2 separate regions of the Homo sapiens genome follow, and region 1 is linked to region 2. The links are contacts of gene promoters, found by promoter capture Hi-C in blood cells and fetal thymus (Javierre and others, 2016). All regions are on one chromosome and are shown on one strand. The core of a region is centred on a gene start or on the middle of the fragment in contact, and the rest is flanking DNA. Distances in the headings are between cores, read along the strand shown. Region 1 has its middle 3.9 kb from the start of EIF1. Region 2 holds the start of RPL23A (ribosomal protein L23a).

Region 1 (3,687 bases), core at 59-2,558, about 13 Mb before region 2:
ATGTGTGTGTGTGTATTTGTGTATATATGTATATATATATGTATGTGTATATATATATATATATAGACAAGGTCTCACTCTGTCACCCAGACTGGCTGGAATGCAGTGGCATGATCATGGCTTACTGCAGCCTCAACTGCTTAAAGCAGTCCCCCTGCCTTGGCCTCCTAAAGTGCTGGGATTACAGGCAGGAGCCAGTGTGCCTGGCCTGATACTTTGTTTTGATTCTATATTTACTAAATAAACTTGATTAATAGTTTGGTTTCCTTGACATCAGGAAGGAGGAACCATGGCTAGGTCATGGGCATCCCAGTCTCATGGTCTTCCCCTTTTGAGAAGCTAAGGCCCCAGTCAGCCAACTTGGGAACCTTTACTATCAGGCAAAATTCACCCCCGACATTTCACGTAGGTTCTTCTCTATTTTCCTTAAGTGTTGGCTGGTCCGAGAAATAAAGGGACAGAGTACAAAAGAGAGAAATTTTAAAGCTGGGTGTCCGGGGGAGACATCACATGTCGGCAGGTTCCATGATGTCCCCCAAGCCGCAAAACCAGCGAGTTTTTATTAGTGATTTTCAAAAGGGGAGGGAGTGTACGAATAGGGTGTGGGTCACAGAGATCATGTGCTTCACAAGGTAATAAGATATCACAAGGCAAATGGAGGCAGGGCAAGACCACAGGACCACAGGACCGGGGCGAAATTAAAATTGCTAATGAAGTTTCAGACACACATTGTCATTGATGATATCTTATCAGGAGACAGGGTTTGAGAACAGACAACCGGTCTGACCAAAATTTATTAGGCGGGAATTTCCTCGTCCTAATAAGCCTGGGAGCGCTACAGGAGACCGGGGCTTATTTCATCCCTCAGCGATGACCGTAAAAGACAGCTGTCCCCAAAGTGGCCATTTCAGAGGCCTCCCTCAGGGACGCATCCTCTTTCTCAGGGATGTTCCTTGCTGAGAAAAAGAATTCAGCGATATTTCTCCCATTTGCTTTTGAAAGAAGAGAAATATGGCTCTGTTCTGCCCGGCTCACGGGCAGTCAGAGTTTAAAGTTATCTCCTTTGTTCCCTGAACATTGCTGTTATCCTGTTCTTTTTTCAAGGTGCCCAGATTTCATATTGTTCAAACACACAAGCTCTACAAACAATTTGTGCAGTTAATGCAATCATCACGGTCCTGAGGCTACATACATCCTCCTCAGCTTATGATGACAGGATTAAGAGATTAAAGTAAAGACAGGCATAGGAAATCCCAAGGGTATTGATTGGGGAAGTGATAAGTGTCCATGAAATCTTCACAATTTATGTTCAGAGATTGCAGTAAAGACAGGCGTAAGAAATTATAAAAGTATTAATTTGGGGAACTAATAAATATCCATTAAATCTTCACAATTTATGTTCTTCTGCCATGGCTTCAGCGGGTCCCTCTGTTGGGAGTCCCTGACATCCCACAACACTTTGCCCTGACGGACATTGTTCTGCTGGAAAGGGTTTTGGGAGAGAGTTTGAATGAATGAATTGGAGCTGTCCTTCCCAGTGTGCATGCAATATTTTGTCACACTAAAATATTTTTTGAGACAGAATCTCGCTTTGTCGTCCAGGCTGTAGTGAAGTGGTGCGATCTTGGCTCACCACAGCTTTCACCTCCTGAGTTCAAGCTATGCTTCTGCCTCAGCCTCCCAAGTAACTGAGATTACGGGCAGGTGCCACCATGCCCAGCTAATTTTTGTATTTTGGGTAGAGAAGGGGTTTTACAACATTGCCCAGGCTGGTCTTGAACTCCTGACCTCAAATGATCCGCCCGCCTTGGCCTCCCAAAGTGCTGGGATTACAGGTGTGAGCCACAACACCCGGCCAAGACTCAGTTCTTTTTTTTTTTTTTTTTTTGAGACAGGGTCTGGCTTTGTCACTTAGGCTGGAGTGCAATGGTGCCATTATAGCTTATTGCAGACTTGAACTCCTAGGCTCAAGTGATCCGTTTCAGCCTCCTGAGTAGCTGGGACTACAGGCATGTGCTACCATAGCCAGCTAATTTTTTAAATTTTTGGTAGAGATGAGGTCTCACTATGTTGCCCAGGCTGGTCTTGAACTGCTAGGCTCAAGTAATCCTTTACCTCGGCCTCCCAAAGTGCTGGGATTACAAGCATGAGCCACCGCACCAGGCCTGAGACTCAGTTCTTGACTTGCCACCAGCTTTGTGGGTGACCTGGTTTACCTCTTGGCTTCAGTTGTATGCCCCATAAAAGGAGCACTGGGTGATCTCTTCCTGGGTCTGAAGTCTGAAGCGCTGTTTTCCCAAGTTGGGAGCATTTCCAGAAGGGTCTTCCGAAGTCTACCTTCCAGTGTGGGAGGTTACCCCAGCCCCAGGAGCCTGAGGAGTAATCATGGAGGCAGGAGTAATTAGTTTGAAAGTGGCATGCATGCCTGCTGTTAATGCTGGCTTCTTTATTAGTGTGCTCCTGGCTTTGAGATGCTGTCACCTGGGCAGCCAAGGGCAGGGTACAAAGCACAGGCTCTGGAGTGTCTGTATCTGAATATCATCTCCATCTTGTTGCCTGGGCGACTTAGCCCCTCCCAGCCTGCATTTTCTCCTCTGTACGACAGAGACAATAATGCCCTTCTCATAGGCTGTTGAGGGGATTTAAAGAGGAGACTATGTACAGCCGGATAAAAATGTAAAGTTATGAAACCACTATATAGATTATACCAGTTTCCCAGAGGGGAAGGGAGAGAGAGAGCCTCCGAGAGCAGCAGGGGACAGGAGTGAGCCCCTCTGAATGAGGATGGGACAGAGGTGGGCACCTCTCCATGGTGATCTCCTTGGGATGTGACAAGGGCATGGCTGTGTAGGACACCTTGGGACCCTCGACCTCAATAAGATTCTCCAAGGCCACCAACGTGGCACGGAAGCAGCAGAATCTCCCTCCAGGAAGGGATTGCACCCTCTGGGAAAATAGACATCTCCATGGTAACCAAGGCAGATAGATGATCTGGTCTAGGGGCTCCTTGTAGCTCTGGTGCTCTAGAAAACCTTGTGAGCGAGAGAGAATCCTGGGGAGGGCTGGAGCCCCTGTCATTTCCAAGGCTGGATTTCTGAGCAGCCCAGTGGGATGTTAATTGGCAAGGATCTCACTTGATTTAAAGAAAGTCCAATTAATGCCACATTTCTTGCATTCCTTATTTGGGACTTAACGACCCACGTATGTAAGTGACTAGAATAGTTCCCCCTCCCCCGCTCCCATGCACATAGAAGGTCCCAGTGAATGAAGGCTGCTGTTCTTACCACTTGGAGAAGGAGGGAGACCCGGGCCTGTTGCAGCTTGATCTGCAGCCTGCACAGGGTAATGATGAGATGTGCAGGTCGGGCATCAGCTGGGGTTCTGCTGGCAATACATCAATTCTTCAAACCTGCCTAGGGTAGATGCTGGGAAGGGACATGGGGGAAACTTTTTTTTTTTTCTTTTTTGAGATGATATCTCACTCTGTCTCCCAGGCTGGAGTGTAGTGGTGCGATCTTGGCTCACTGGAACATCCGCCTTCCGGGTTCAAGTGATCCTCCCGCTTCAGCCTCCCAAGTAGCTGGCATTACAGGCACCCACCACCACGCCTTGCAAATTTTTGTATTTTTAGTAGAGATGGGGTTTCACCATGTTGGTCAGGCTGGTCTCGAACTCCTGACCTCAAGT
Region 2 (3,279 bases), core at 740-3,239:
GCGCCCGGCCAGCCACGAGCAAATTCTTATGCATAGGTGAGGTTAAGCCACAGCAGTGGCTTAAGCACAACTGTAACACAGCTTTCCCCATTTAAAGTCACACTTGATTCTAGGTCCAGCTTGGTGGCGGGAGGGGCAGGAAGACAGTCTGTGAACTGCTTTCCTATATGAACACAATCCACTTTTTCTGTTAAGAAAGAGTAGAAGCAGCAAAAACCCATTGGTACTAACTACTACCATGGCTCTACTCAAATCTGTGCTCCCTAAAAAGTCAGTTATTACCGATAGCTCAAATACTCAAGTGCCCAACCTTCTGCCCATTCCCCCCCAACTGTTCCTTGAGCAGTATGAAAATTCGGGAAAATGAATGGAAAGAAGCTTCTATACACCGCAGCAGGCCATAACTGCCAAATACAGATAATGGAATCCCCACTATCAATCAAGAATCAATCCACGTTCTCACCCTCAAGGATTGTTCCCGATAGCAGTAGGAGCTATGAGCAAGGAATCTCTGTATTCTACTTTATACTCCCCCCAAAATAAGTTTTCAAACCGTGACCACATGTGAAGCAATAATTAACCTAACAAATTTTGAGAGACTCAGGGTTTTTTTTTTTTTGAGACAGAGTTTCACTCTTATTGCCCAGGCTGGAATGCAATGGTACGATCTCCGCTCACCGCAACCTCCACCTCCCGGGTTCAAGCGATTCTCCTGCCTCAGCCTCCCGCGAGTAGCTGGGATTACAGACATGCGCCACCATGCCCGGCGAATTTTCTATTTTTAATAGACGCGGGGTTTCTCCATGTCACTCAGGCTGGTCTCGAACCCCTGACCTCAAGTGATCCGCCCCCCCTCGGCCTCCCAAAGTGCTGGGATTACAGACGTGAGCCACCGCGCCCGGCCTCTGGGCTGATCCTGCCAGTTTTGTAAATGCAGCAGAAACAATCTCCTCATACTTCCAATTAGAGAAGCACACTGGACACAATTTGCGTTTGAGAAACCATCACGCAGAGTGAGTGAATTTCCAAATTACCAATGGAGAATACCCAAATCTTTTCATGGGTACAGGGGGCAGTACTGACTTGTTTCTCCTGGGAGCGCTCTTCCGAGGATATTTGGGCTGTCTCCGGAGTCGCAGTGTCTTCGGCCGCCGGAAGGTGGGTGACGTGCGGATCTTCTTCTTTTTGTGGCTGTGGACACCTTTCAACACTGCCTTCTTGGCCTTTAAAGCCTTCGCTTTGGCTTCAGCTTTAGGAGGGGCAGGAGCTGGGAGAAAAGGAAAGAAAACGTGGGTGCGGGATTTAGAAATCGGTCACTTCCGGCCCCAAGAACTGCAGTGGGCCACCCTGGCCACAGGTGCATCAGTGGTTCCTTTGAAGACATCACAAGTGTCAGGAGATTAAAACTTTTCCATCATATGCACGATACCAGAGGCGAAAGCGACCAACTCTAAGTAACTCCAGGGATACGACTATGAAACAAAGTAGCACTGAATGAACGCTTGATACTTTCCAGAAAATGTCCTACGAATTTTACACATACCCCATCGCAAAACCACGCTGCGGAGAGAGGGGCGGGTAATGTAGCCCGGTTGAACATGAACCAGAAGGAAAATGGTTAAAGCTGAGGGCACTAATTCCTTACAGGCCCGGGGACATGGAGCTCCAACCAGTGGATGCATGTAGCTTCCCAGAACCGAATGTCTGGCCCTCCCTGGCGGATGATGCCTGCCGCGTTGCCCCCCCCCAACTCCCTCTACCGGAACTCAGCCCACGAGGCTGGGCCCACGCGGCCCACGTATACTGCAGCGTGTCCGAAACGCAGGGAGCAGCCCCGGAGCAGAGCCCTCAGGGCTTAGCCCAGCAGCCGTGTTCCCAATTCGTTCGCTCTGCGGCGCGGCAATCCCCGGTAAACCAGCTGCGGCCCCATCACCAACACACACCTTCCTTCTTCGCTTTCGGCGCCATCTTGTGAAAAGGGTCTCCAATGCTCGTTCCCACGGGCTTATAGCGCCAAAGAGCACTAAAGACTCGCGATGCTTTGTACTTAGAGCTGATTGGGTAATTTGCAGAGCGGCGCCCTCTGGGAACGGTAGTTAGGTTTAATTTCTTTTTCGTGCGTGAACAAACATGCGCCACTCCTCCCCTCAAAGGCACTAAAGCTTCATGGGGGTTGTAGTTTTTTGTTTTTTGTTTTTTGTTTTTTTTTTGAGCGCTCTGTCGCCCAGGCTGGAGTGCAGTGGCGCGATCTCGGCTCACTGTAAGCTCCGCCTCCCGGGTTTACGCCATTCTCCTGCCTCAGCCACCAGAGTAGCTGGGACTACAGGCGCGTGCCACCATGGGGATTGTAGTTTTTTGAAGACACGCGTTTATTTGCTCAGGCCAGCGGACGGCGTAGCCGGCTGGCGCTCGGGTCTGGTCCCGGGAGCTTCCTATCTTGAGCAACTGCCAGTCTCAGGGAAGAGGATTGCCATGCCAGGAGGCAGGAACGCTGCCAAGAGGAAAGAACACATTTGGATTGACTCGGGAGTTAGATACAGCTAAGTTCTAGAGTGCTGGAGCAGGATTTGCTCGGTCGAACTGAGGTCCAGAGAGGAATGTGGTTTATCAATAACACAGTGATTTGGTGGCAGAAAAAAATCAAGTCAGGGCCGGGCGCGGTGACTCACGCCTGTAATCCCAGCACTTTGTGAGGCCGAGGTGGACGAATTGCTTCGAGCCCAGGAGTTCGAGACCACCCTGGGCAACACGGCGAAACCCTGTCTCTACAAAAGAATACAAAAATTAGCCGGGCGTGGTGGTGCGTGCCTGTAGTCCCAGTTCCTTGGGAGGCTGAGGTGGGAGGATCGCTTCAGCCCTGGAGGTCGAGGCTGCAATGAGCCATTCCAGCCTGGGTGGCAGAGTGAGACCCTGTCTCAAAATAAATAAATAAATAAATAAATAAATAATCGAGTCACGAGGGGGAAGTGTCAGAGGAAGTACAAGGCGGCCACACCTGCCCCTCTTTACCTGCGACACTGATACTGTCAAGTTTTACTGCGTTTCCTGATAATGCATTTGAAGTTCTATGAAAATTCCACACATTTCTCCAAGATTCGCTAGTTTTTCCGGTTAGTAACTTCACTCACAATCCCCTGCCCTAAACTAGTCTTCCCTTCCGTGTCCTGGTCATCTTTACATCCTCAAATTCAGCTCCAGACACAGAGAAAGGTTTCTTAACACTCAGGTTCGCTTCTCCTAAGGTGTGTGCCTAACCCATCCCCACTTGATCCTTTCTTC

The links. Contacts are between HindIII fragments. The CHiCAGO score rates a contact against its expected background, and 5 or more counts as called.
Region 1: a contact is called between a fragment that was not itself captured here and the fragment with the promoter of RPL23A in region 2, in 1 of 17 cell types (fetal thymus). The highest score is 7.3, in fetal thymus.

Annotation. Positions count from the first base shown.
Region 1 is chr17:41,683,103-41,686,789 of GRCh38, reverse strand. No RefSeq gene overlaps it. Among named protein-coding and RNA genes, the nearest start is that of EIF1, 3.9 kb to the left of the region's middle. The HindIII fragment of the contact is 6,365 bases long and covers 1-3,687 here.
Region 2 is chr17:28,718,695-28,721,973 of GRCh38, reverse strand. It overlaps RPL23A (ribosomal protein L23a), which reads right to left and starts at 1,989. Exons shown (of 5, transcript NM_000984.6): 1 at 1,944-1,989; 2 at 1,084-1,267. The coding sequence starts at 1,968. It overlaps SNORD42B (small nucleolar RNA, C/D box 42B), which reads right to left and starts at 1,424; the gene lies at 1,358-1,424. RefSeq lists enhancers at 1,275-1,434, 1,775-1,994, 2,425-2,474, 2,131-2,732, 2,733-3,279. The HindIII fragment of the contact is 1,784 bases long and covers 381-2,164 here.